2 separate regions of the Homo sapiens genome follow, and region 2 is linked to region 1. Evidence: promoter capture Hi-C in 16 types of primary human blood cells and fetal thymus (Javierre and others, 2016). All regions are on one chromosome and are shown on one strand. Each heading gives the region's core, a stretch centred on a gene start or on the middle of the fragment in contact. The rest is flanking DNA. Distances are from core to core; before and after follow the strand shown.

Region 1 (5,253 bases), core at 853-3,352:
CGACCCTGAGGTTCTGGCCTGGGCCCGGGTGAGGGCATTTGCCGAAGGCACAGGCCCCGCATGCAGGGGCGGTGATGCTGGTCAGAGGATGAGGAGAGGCAGGTGGCGGGGCAGAGGAAGCTCTGTGCAGGGTGCTCCCATTCAGGTGACAGGAGGAGGAAGCATTACCCCATCGGATCTCCCCTCCCCTTAGAGAGTTACCCTGAGGGACAGATTGAGAAACTGTAGAGGGATGAAGCCGCACAGCCCCCGCCTGGCGTCCGGCAGGGATCCGCGCCTGACCGGCCTCTCCTCCCATGGGCACCACGGACGTCTCCTTCCGGACTCGCTGCCCACACAGCGCAGGGTGCAGGGCCCTGGAGCCCTTGGGGTCCTGCGGGGACCCAGCTGGTGCCCACAGGAGTGGAAAGAGACCGTGGCGGGTCACACAGCAGTTCTCAGGCTGCAGCCTGGGGCCATGAGCCTCACTGAGGCCACAGTCAAATGGCCACACCCAACTTCAGGGGCACAGGGAGACCAGCTCTGCCTTGCGGTCCCTGGATGAGGAGATGGGACACACCGGGCAGGCGGTGCTCAGGACTCCCTCGGTGGCGGGGCAGCGTTCGAGTCAGTGCCCTGCTGGGAACAGATCTCCAAGATGTGGTTAAGTGGCAAAAGCCAGGTGCAGAAAAGAGGAGCCGTGCGCTACCTGCAGGGTGACAAGGCAGAGGGAGGCACACGGGTGGCTGCCTGAACGCACACGGAAAAGCCGGGAACACAGGCACAAATCAGAACACAGGCTGACTCCAGGGGAGGGGACCAGCTGCTCAGGGGTCAGGGGAGACCTTCGACCCTTTGACTGGATGATTCCCCCACCTTTTATTTTTATTTTTTTTTAGACAGGGTCTCGCTCTGTCGGCCGGCTGCAGCGTAGTGGCACCATCATAGCTTACTGCAGCCTTGACCTCCCAAGCTGAAGAGATCCTCCTACCTCAGCCTCCTCAGTAGCTGGGACCGTAGGCATGCACCACCATGCCTGGCTAATTTATTCTTGATTTTTGTTTGTAGAGATAGGGTCTCACTATGTTGCCCAGGCTGGTCTCAGACTCCCACTTTGGCCTCCCAAAGGGCTGGGATTAGAGGTTCATGCCACCATGCCCAGCTAATTTTTATTTTTTTGTAGAGATGGGGGTCTTGCTATGTTGCTCAGGCTGGTCTCGAACTCAACCGATCCTCCTGCCTTGGTCTCCCAAAGTGCTGAGATTACAGGCATGAGCATCACACCTGGCAACTGTATGATCTTTTGTGTCTTTTGAGTTTTGTTCCCATCAGTGTTTCCATTAAAAAAAAAAAAAAAAAGGCGTGGGGGCGGGGCGGGCGCAGTAATTCCAGCACTTTGGGAGGCCAAGGCGGGCGGACCACCTGAGGTCAGGAGTTCGAGACCAGCCTGGCCAACATGGTGAAACCCCGTCTCTACTAAAAACACAAAAAAATTAGCCAGACATGGTGGCGGGCGCCTGTAATCCCAGCTACTCGGGAGACTGAGGCAGGAGAATCGCTTGAACCTGGGAGGTGGAGGTTGCAATAAGCCGAGGTCGCGCCACTGCATTCCAGCCTGGGCGACAGAGCGAGACTCCGTGCCAAAAAAAAAAAGAAAAAAGAAAAGGGTGAACTTTGTGGAACACGAGTTCTATCTCAATAAAGCTATTATTATTATTATTATTATTATTTGAGACAGGGTCTCTCCCCGGGAGCCCCCCGGGCTGCGCCCCCTCGCCAGTGCCTGCGCCCCGGCCGCCCCCGCTCTCCGGGACGTGCAGAACCTGCCACTTGACTCATCCGCGGATCCCTGACGCCACTCCTCCCCGCCGTGCGTCCTGGAGTGCGTCCCTTCGCAACGCCAGCACCACCTGTGAATGGAGAGGCCAGCGCCTGCCCCGCGCCGCCGACCCACCTGGACCGGACCACATGCGCGCGGCGCCGGCCAGCCCGCCTCCCGCCGCCATGGGGCGCTGCAGGCATCAGGCCGGCGCCGCGGGCCTCTCGCGCCTCCTTCTGGGCCCGCTTCCCGCCGCACTGTTTTCCTTCCGGTTGTTCCGGAAGTCGGGTCCTCGAGGGCGGTGAGATCGGTTTCCGATTCCGGGGTGGCCGGGTGGCGGCGGCGGCGCTCCGGTCGCGATGGGCCAGAGGTAAGTGAGCCGCGGCCTGGGCGCTTCCTCATTGCCGGGCGAGCGCCTGGTTCTCCCGGCTACCGCTCCCGGCCTCTGGGCCGTCCCTTCTGGTTCTGCCGCCTCCAGCCCGGCGTCCGCGTCGCCTGCTGCCGCCCGACTGAGCCGCTCCCGGGCGGCTGGGAGGCGGGGTCCCTGCAGCTCCTGCAGCATCGCCCCGCCGGGCGGGCGCGGGACCACTGTCCCCGGGTCCCAGGCCCAAGCCCCGTGCGGCAAGGGAGCGAATGAGCGAGCGAACGAGCGAATGAGTGAAGGAATGACCGCACGCTGGCTCCTCCGCAGGTGACGCCGCAGCCGCCGGGAGCCGCGAGGGACGGGGCAGGATGAACCGGGCCAAGCCCACCACGGTGCGCCGGCCCAGCGCCGCGGCCAAACCCTCAGGTGCGTCTCCCTCCTCGCTCTGCAGCCCGGGGGTCTTTGGGGGTCTTTGGGGGTCTTTGGGGATCTCAGCTGCCGCGGATCCTGCGTTGGGCTTGGTTGTTCCGCAGCCGCGGCTGTTTCCAGGAATTCGGTCTGGAAACACTGCTCTCGGTCCTCAGCGGCTCTGAGAGTCCCTGGGAGGCTTGGGACAGTGGCGACTTCCTTCGGGACCCCGGTGATCTCGTTTCAGGCTGAGCTGCAAGGCGGCCGACAGTAGCGGAAGGTCTCCCCAGCCAGGAGGCGGGAGGCAGCACAGTGTAGCGTAGCACGGGGTCTGCGGCTGAACTGTCGGCTCAGATCCTCCGGACTTTGCCACTCGCCTGCTGTGTGACGCTGGGCACGTCGCTTAACCTCTCTGTGTCCCTTTCTCTCTTGTAAAGTTAGAGTAATAGCACCTATTGCGGAAACTCGGGGCGGGGGTTACTAAGCACACTAATTTGGATAGACCAGAGATGGCCTGGTTTGTGGTTAGCGCTACGTGACTGTCCACCATCACCTGTGCGTATCCTGCTGGTCCCAGCTCTGCTGTAGGCTGCTGAGTGAGCTCTGGCTTCTTCCTTGCCTCCTCTGACCCTTGTTTAATCCCCTCTGACATAACAGGAGGTTAGAGTCAGTCTTTTTCCATCTTGGGTGTTGCAAATGTGCCCGGTTTTCTCTCTCCTTTCTCTGCAGGGCACCCTCCCCCAGGAGACTTCATTGCTCTGGGCTCAAAGGGTCAGGCCAATGAATCGAAAACGGCGTCCACCCTGCTGAAGCCAGCCCCTTCCGGCCTGCCTTCTGAGCGCAAGCGGGATGCGGCGGCCGCGTTGTCCAGTGCCTCGGCCCTCACCGGTCTCACCAAACGCCCCAAACTCTCCTCCACACCCCCTCTGAGTGCCCTGGGGCGCCTGGCTGAGGCTGCAGTGGCAGAAAAACGAGCCATTTCTCCGTCGATTAAAGAGCCATCTGTGGTGCCAATTGAAGGTAATGAGTCTGTGGACATCCCCCGAGAACACCCCTCAGCTCATGCCGTCCATCAGGTGTTCAGGGAAGGCCCCCTCCAGGCCTAGTGCTGCCCGTATGGCCGAGGTCCTTTGGGAGAGCGGATGTTTGTGGCTTGTTCTTGGAAGTGCTTCTCACGTAGATGCCCTTATCCCGTGTGTGCATCTGCGTCCTGCACTGCCAGTGGCTGCCCTTTGAGAACCGGGTCACTCCCTTATTGAGTTGTTTGTCTCATGTGTCTGTTGGACGCCCCCTTTGTGACGGGCACTGTCTGAGCCCTGGGGGTAAACCGGGCGTGACGACACCCCAGGTGTCTGTTCTCAAGGTTGCCCATCCTGGTGCGTTCCTCTCTCAACCTGAGCGGAGGCGATGTGTACTTGGTTCCTCCTTCCCTCCTGGTTACCAACAGAGAAGAGTTGATCCCCTCCCTGTTTTCAGTTGAAAAGCAGCAGAACAGTAAGGACATCAACGGGGGAATGTAAGCTTCACCACTGTCCCGTTCTCGCAGAAATGCCTTTAACTGTGTGCCTAGAATCGCCCCTGCCCCTCTGCGCCATTTTCCCAACGACCATTTCTCAAGGCTCCGTGACTCCCTGGGAGTCGCTCTGGCAGCTATCGCACCAGCCCCAGCAAGCCTCATGGTCTGCAGTGTTTTGTTTCTGTGGGAGCATCTCTTTTGGGTAATTTCTTTGTAGGAGTCAAAAAGAACAAGTGTCCTGATGACTTTGGTAGTGAGGTGTCTGTTCAAGCCGCGCCACCTCTGGTTACTGAGTTTTGTGCCAGACAGGACCCAGGGGACTTGTGGGCTGTGGCCTTGCCCTCAGGGAGGGACCAGGCTGCTGCAGTGCAAGCCTGTGAGTGAGTCCCCGACGGCCCTGGAAGGGAGGAGGCCTGGCAGGGAGTTGCAGTATGGGCTTGGGCCTGGAAGCACAGGCGATGAAACCGGGGCAGGCAGGAAAGGGAGATGCCAAGCAGAGAATGGACTGTGCCCAGGGAATGGAGGCCTGGCCTGGCCTGGGCAGCACACGCTCATGAGAGCTGAGGCTGGGCGCTGTGGGCAGTGTTTGTGCTGGACTCAGTTGGCATCAGGGAGCCCTGGGGGCAAACGGCCCAGGATGGCACAGCTGGGGGACTGCTTTAGGAGGTCGAGCCTCAGACCTCCCATGAGGCGTGTCCCTGGGCAGCTGGTGCCGGTGGGGATTGAAGACAGAGACCACAGGCCTCATCCTGGCCCGGGCTCTCGGCCGCCGGCGGCTCGGTGCTTTATTTATCTTTAGCACTACCTCCTGTAGAAAGGAGGTTTTGAAGATGAGAGGAGACGTGGTTATGAAAAGCGTATTCTGAGTGGTAGATCACTTTATAGTATTATTCTCAGCAAAACAGAGAGATGGCTGCATCCAGCCATTTGTGGTAAATGTCCCAGGCTGTCCCTCCATGCTGGCAGCCCACTTGTCCCCCAGCTTGTCTCGGCATCAGGAAATTTATTCCAAGTCTCTGTCCCGGGCGCAGTTAAGGTAGATCACAATGCCTCTGTCCACATGTGTGTGGATATGTATTTACTTATTATTTATTATTTATTTATTTATTTATTTTTTTTTGAGACAGAGTCTCGCTGTGTTCCCCAGGCTGGAATGCAGTGGCACGA
Region 2 (5,253 bases), core at 1,711-4,210, 270 kb after region 1:
GACTCGGGGTGGTTGATTCAGAAGAGCTCGCCTTGCAAATGAAGCTCTTGAAATTACGTCGATAATTAATTGTGCAAATTTGTTTCTATTAAATAAAAATAACACGTACTGAAGAACTCAATTAGCATTAATTAAGCTTGATATCCTAATTTGGAAGTTGTGTAATAGAAAACAAGCGTTTTGGAGGGTGTTTTTTCCTCTCTCCCCCTCCTCCTCTCCCTCTCCCGGCCTCTCTCCTGCTCCCCCTCTCTCTGCCTCTCCTCCTCGGCTGGAGAGAGGAGCGGCTGTAGCCTTTGGGCTGCTTCTCTCTCCTTGGAGAATTGGAGATGAGAAATGGAGATGGGGAATCAGGAGGCGCTAAATTAACTGCCTGATCTGCACTTATTGGTGCATACACATCCCCCCATTACGGGGCCTTTCTGCAGCTCGGCTCTTAATATTCTAGGCATGGCGAGCCGTCTAGATAGCAGATTTATCAAATGGGAAAATGAATGTATGATGATCAGTTAAATTGAAAATCAGCGCCTGCATGACAGCTCGACCTGACACCTCCGTAATTAGAAAGAAAAATGATGGCGTCGGATGCATAATAGAGCAAAAACAATTTACACTCTCCCATAATGATCCGGCGTTCAAATTGAAAATTTCTCCTGGTAGAAATTGAATTCATAAAGTATGATTCATGAAGGATACATCTCCTGGAGGCTGGCTCGACCAGATCGATTGATAGTTTGTCTAGAATCACACAGCCTGCTGCTTTTGGGCTTTCAGAAAAAAAAGCTAAACTGTTTAAGTAAATCAGTAATTTCACCTTAAGGACACGGGTGTGCAGCCAGCGATACTCCAGCATTCAAACTGCAAATCCATTAAACATGAGGCCTCCCCCCAACTCGGTGCAGCCGCCACCGAAATGAACAGCTGCAAATTGAAGGAAGGAGGCGATTTATCGCTGCCAGACAAATTGTTCACCTTAGATAAAATAACCGGCATTTTACGCACAATTTTCTGCCACAATTTCATAATTTAAATGACACTTTAAATACAGTTTAATGGGGGTGGGAGTGGGGGCGGGAGAAGGAAGAGTTGACCGCAGAGGCCAGACGGGACCGGCCGGAGACAAAGGGTTGGAGGCCGCGCTGCTGGGACGCGGCCCTGGCCGGCCTGTGGGGAGGCCCAGGCTGCAGGACCCCAGGAAGCAGGGGTAGGGGCAGAGGGCCAGGCTCTGCGGCCGAGCTCCTGCGACCTCCATGGGAACCCCGCGTCCCCTCCCCGACAACTCCTGGCTTCCACTGGGGGCGGCCTGTCCCAGAGTTGGGCAACCAGCGCAGAGGTCTCCTTCCCGTGGATCCCGCCCCCTCCCCTGCTCTTCCTTCCCCCTCTCACTTTTCTTTTGATCTAATTATTTTTCCTATAAGCTCGGTCTCCTAGAGAGCAAATATCAGAGTCACTGAGCGAAAATTATGTAAATATTATTAAAGGGACTCGGGCTCCGAAATTCATTTGCGCCCGCGCGAGGAGGAAAGCTGTCCTTCAGATTATTTTCAATTTATTTGCAAATAAAGGCCTGATGACCAGGAGGGATCAGGGATATTTAACGAGGCTGTAAACATAATTCCACTGTGCTCAGCCTCGTTGGAATTAATGGTTTTAATAATTGGGATCCCAATTTCTCGGGGAATTGGTGGCTTTTGCGGCAACGAGGACCCAGGGCCCAGGAAAATTGAGGCCAGTGGGTTGGGGTTTTTGGGGGGGTGGGGGGAGATGGAGGACGGGTGGCGGTTCACTTTGGGATGGGGCGGCTGCGGGCAGGGGCGGGGGCGCGGGGCTGGCTGCAGGCTCCAGCCAAGTTTGCTAATATTTCTTCGCTGCAGATGTCCTGAAGTCCCCGAAGGGTCCCCTGGGGACCCGGACCCTATTAGAACAAATGTGCACGGCTTTTGTAAAGAGTCGCGTTGGCGGCGCCTGTCCTATTACAGGCGACACATGATCAATAGGCTGATAACGCAGCAACATCAATATAAGCGACAGAACAATGAGGGATATCATTGGGCATCTATCTTAATATAGCCGGCTACAAGAGCGCTGACAAAGAGTGCAGCTCATGAAAATTCCGCCCCACGATTCCCCATCTCCGCTCCAATATGCGCACGCACTCCCCCAGCTGCCGGCGCTATTATTCTCCAATTTCAATTTGACACCCCAGCCTTTCATGCTAATTCTATTATTGTAGGAAGTTTATGTGATTCCATATCACTAGAAATCGGTAATGTATAATAACCCTTTGGGCAAGAAACCCAGTCCCCGCAGCAGCCACCGGAAAATAATTACTTTCATATCAAAACTCTGCAGGAGCCCAGCGGCCCGGCCCTCGCAGCCCCCGGCTCCGTCACCCCGCGCCGCGCGCCCCGGCGTGTGCCAGTGCGCGCGGGGGCGCGCGGCGGATGTGAGCGTGCGTGTGCGGCGCGGGGTAGGAGGGGGAGCGCCGGGGCGGGCGGGGACCGGGAGCCGCAGATGCATAAATGTGTTGAATCAGAAAACACAGACACACACGCACACAAAAGGACGCATTAAGCGCAGACCCCCGGGAAGTGCGGGGCCCCCTCCGGGCCCCACCCGCGGAGAGAGGCGTGGAAAGGTGGGAAGGGCGGCGGGGCTGGGCGCTTGGCAAATTTAAAAAGATGGACCTGAAAACTTGCGTTTGACCAGCTTTATTTATCAAAAATGGTACATATATAAATATTCTTAGACATTTTTGCATTTTACAAGGCTGAGGATTCTCGTTGTGGGGTTTTTTGGGGGCCATGGGTCCTTTTTGCTCTCTTGGGAGGAGGAGGGTCTCACCCCCAGTCCTGTGGTTGCTGCCTGGGTCCGAATTCATACAGCACTTTCGTTTACTCTTAAAAAAAATAATAAAAGAAAGAAAACAAAAGAAAAGAAGGGAAAGCAGTGTTTCTAGAGCCGATCACCTGATTCGTTGCGTGAGTCGGAGCCTGAGCGAGCGGCCGCGGGCCGGCTACGCGCCTCTCCCGGCCGCCGCGGCCTCAGTCCATGTCCAGCTCCTCGCCCTCCGGCGGGCTGGGTCCGGCCGCCGCGCCAGGCTCGGGAACCCCGCAGGTGGCCGGCTCCTCGGCGGGGCTGGGAGGCCGAGGGCCGGGCCTGGGCGACGGCGCGGGCGGCGGGGGCGCGGGGCCGGCGGTCCCCGCGTCCGCGCAGTCCCCGCCGCCGCCCTCGGTAGCCGCTGCCGAGGCGAGGTCCCGGAAAGGCGCCGGGGCCGGGGCTGGGGCCCCCGGGGAGGCGACGGCGTCGGGGCTGCGACGCGCGAAGGCCGAGTCCGGGGCGCCGCCGGGCCCCGAGAAGGCCCCGAAACTGGCCTGGGCAGGCGGCGCGGGCGGCACGGCGGGCGCGGGCGGCGCGTCCTTGGGCGCCGGCTCCAGGCCCGCGCCGCCCTTGAGCGCGGCCTGCGGCACCAGGAAGCCGAGCGGCTGCGTGATGGGGTAGAGGAGGAAGTGGCCCTTGCCGATCAGGGTCCGCGGCGCGCACGGCAGCCCGGGCGCGAAGTCCAGCCCCGCGGCGGCGGCGGCGGCGGCGTTGGAAGCGGCTTTCCGGCGCGGCGGCGAGTCGGACAGGAGGCTCTCCACGCTGAATGGGCTGGCCTTGGGCAGCCCCGCGGCGCCGCGCTCCACCGCCGCCACAGCGGCCCCTGGCCCGCACGAGGCCGCGTCCTTGTCCGCAGGGCGACCTGGGCGCGGCTGTGGGCCGGCGCCGCTTCTTTGGCTCGGGTAGAAGGCGGGGTCGCAGGTGCCGGGTGCAGGCGGCTCGCCGGGAGGGGCGGGCGCGGTCCCCGCGGCGCCCGAGGCGTGCGCTCCGGGGCCCTTGGCGGCGGGCGGCGGCGGCTCGGGCGGCTCCGGAGACAGGCCGCCGCCGCCGCTGTCGCTGTCGGAGCTGGGCGCGCTGTGCAGGGACAGGCCGCCGGGCGAGTGCAAGTGGCGGCCCTGGCTCTTCAGCAGCTTCTTCTCGTGCTTGCGCTTCTTCTTCTCCATCTTCTCCAGCTCCTTGCGCGCGATCTCCTCCGGGTCCATGGGCTCGCCGCTGCACGTGGTCGGGTGCGAGTTGTGCGCCGGCCGCCCCGGGCCCTTTTTCGTGTTCTCCTTCTTCCTCCACTTGGCCCGGCGGTTTTGGAACCAGACCTAGAGCAGCCGGATAGGGGAGAGGAAGCCACAATCAGGCGGCGGGCTGGCCGCCGGGGCCGAGGACCTCCCCGCTCCCCCCAGAGGGGCCTGCACAACCTCCGCTCGGCCGGGGCAGGAGTGAAGCCGCGCGGCCGAGCGGGCCCTGAGCTGGGCTTTGCCACTGGAGCTGCAGGTTCCAGCGAGCGCCTTTTCCACCCGGAAGGCGCGTAGACGGGGCCTCTCGGCCAGCTTCCCGCTCTGGCTTCTCACCTCGGGGACCTGGGAGCCGCCCCTTACTTGGGGGGCCGGTCTGGCCCCGGACGGAGAGCGTCGGGTTCCTGGTCCGGAGGCTAGAGAGCAAGGCCCCTGTTCACCCTTCCTGGCCGCTCACGGCTCGTGTTCTAAGCAGCCCGCCCGGCCTGGCGCTGACCATCCTGCCGTTGGACCGCTGAGCCACAGCCGCCCTCCACACCTGTCTTCGGCCCCTTGGAGACTGTGTCAAAGCCCACATTTCGGGGGTGGGGGCGGAATCCCTTGAAGGGAAATATGGGTGCTTCTCGTCCGGAAGGGCCTGGGGAGCCGTACTTGGGTGGGCCTCTGCAGCCTCCCTCCCAGGGCACAGCTAACACAGCCTTCTTTCCGCAAACCCTGGGCCAGGGCGCCAACGGAGCCTTCCCAAACCTGCGGTCCTTGGCCTGGGCCACCGGCCAAGGCAGGTGGGGAGGCAAGAGGCGACCACCAGGCCGGAAGGAGAGGCTGGGCCCATCGCGTCTCTTCCATCCTCTCTGCAGTCCTTGTCCTGGGGAGCCACACAGGACATCCGGGGACGGCAGCGCTACACCCTCACTCAACCGCCAGCCACCAAACACACACAGTCAAATCCGTCTGAGCCCCGCGGAAGCTCGGGCAGTCCTGCCCTCCCCAGGAGGGCGCGTTAATACGGATTCTTTGTCGCGGCCACACAGAGACTTGCACAATAGCAGGCCCAGCCTTGTCGCAGGGAGCCTTGTCCATGGGGAGGTCTCCAGCATGAAGCCGAGCCCTCCCCCAACGCTGTAACCGCCTTTTCCTTCTTTAAACTTTT

Evidence for each region. The method cuts DNA at HindIII sites, captures the fragments that hold promoters and counts their contacts. A CHiCAGO score of 5 or more calls a contact.
Region 2: a contact is called between a fragment that was not itself captured here and the fragment with the promoter of INTS1 in region 1, in 1 of 17 cell types (endothelial precursors). The highest score is 5.1, in endothelial precursors.

The regions. Positions count from the first base shown.
Region 1 is chr7:1,501,238-1,506,490 of GRCh38, reverse strand. It overlaps INTS1 (integrator complex subunit 1), which reads left to right and starts at 2,102. Exons shown (of 48, transcript NM_001080453.3): 1 at 2,102-2,168; 2 at 2,490-2,588; 3 at 3,300-3,590. The coding sequence starts at 2,531. RefSeq lists enhancers at 1-413, 599-788, 414-1,010 and a silencer at 1,897-2,456. The HindIII fragment of the contact is 9,546 bases long and covers 1-4,093 here.
Region 2 is chr7:1,234,766-1,240,018 of GRCh38, reverse strand. It overlaps UNCX (UNC homeobox), which reads right to left. Exons shown (of 3, transcript NM_001080461.3): 3 at 2,693-4,187. The coding sequence ends at 3,042. Among named protein-coding and RNA genes, the nearest start is that of UNCX, 4.5 kb to the right of the region's middle. RefSeq lists an enhancer at 4,597-5,253. The HindIII fragment of the contact is 5,643 bases long and covers 139-5,253 here.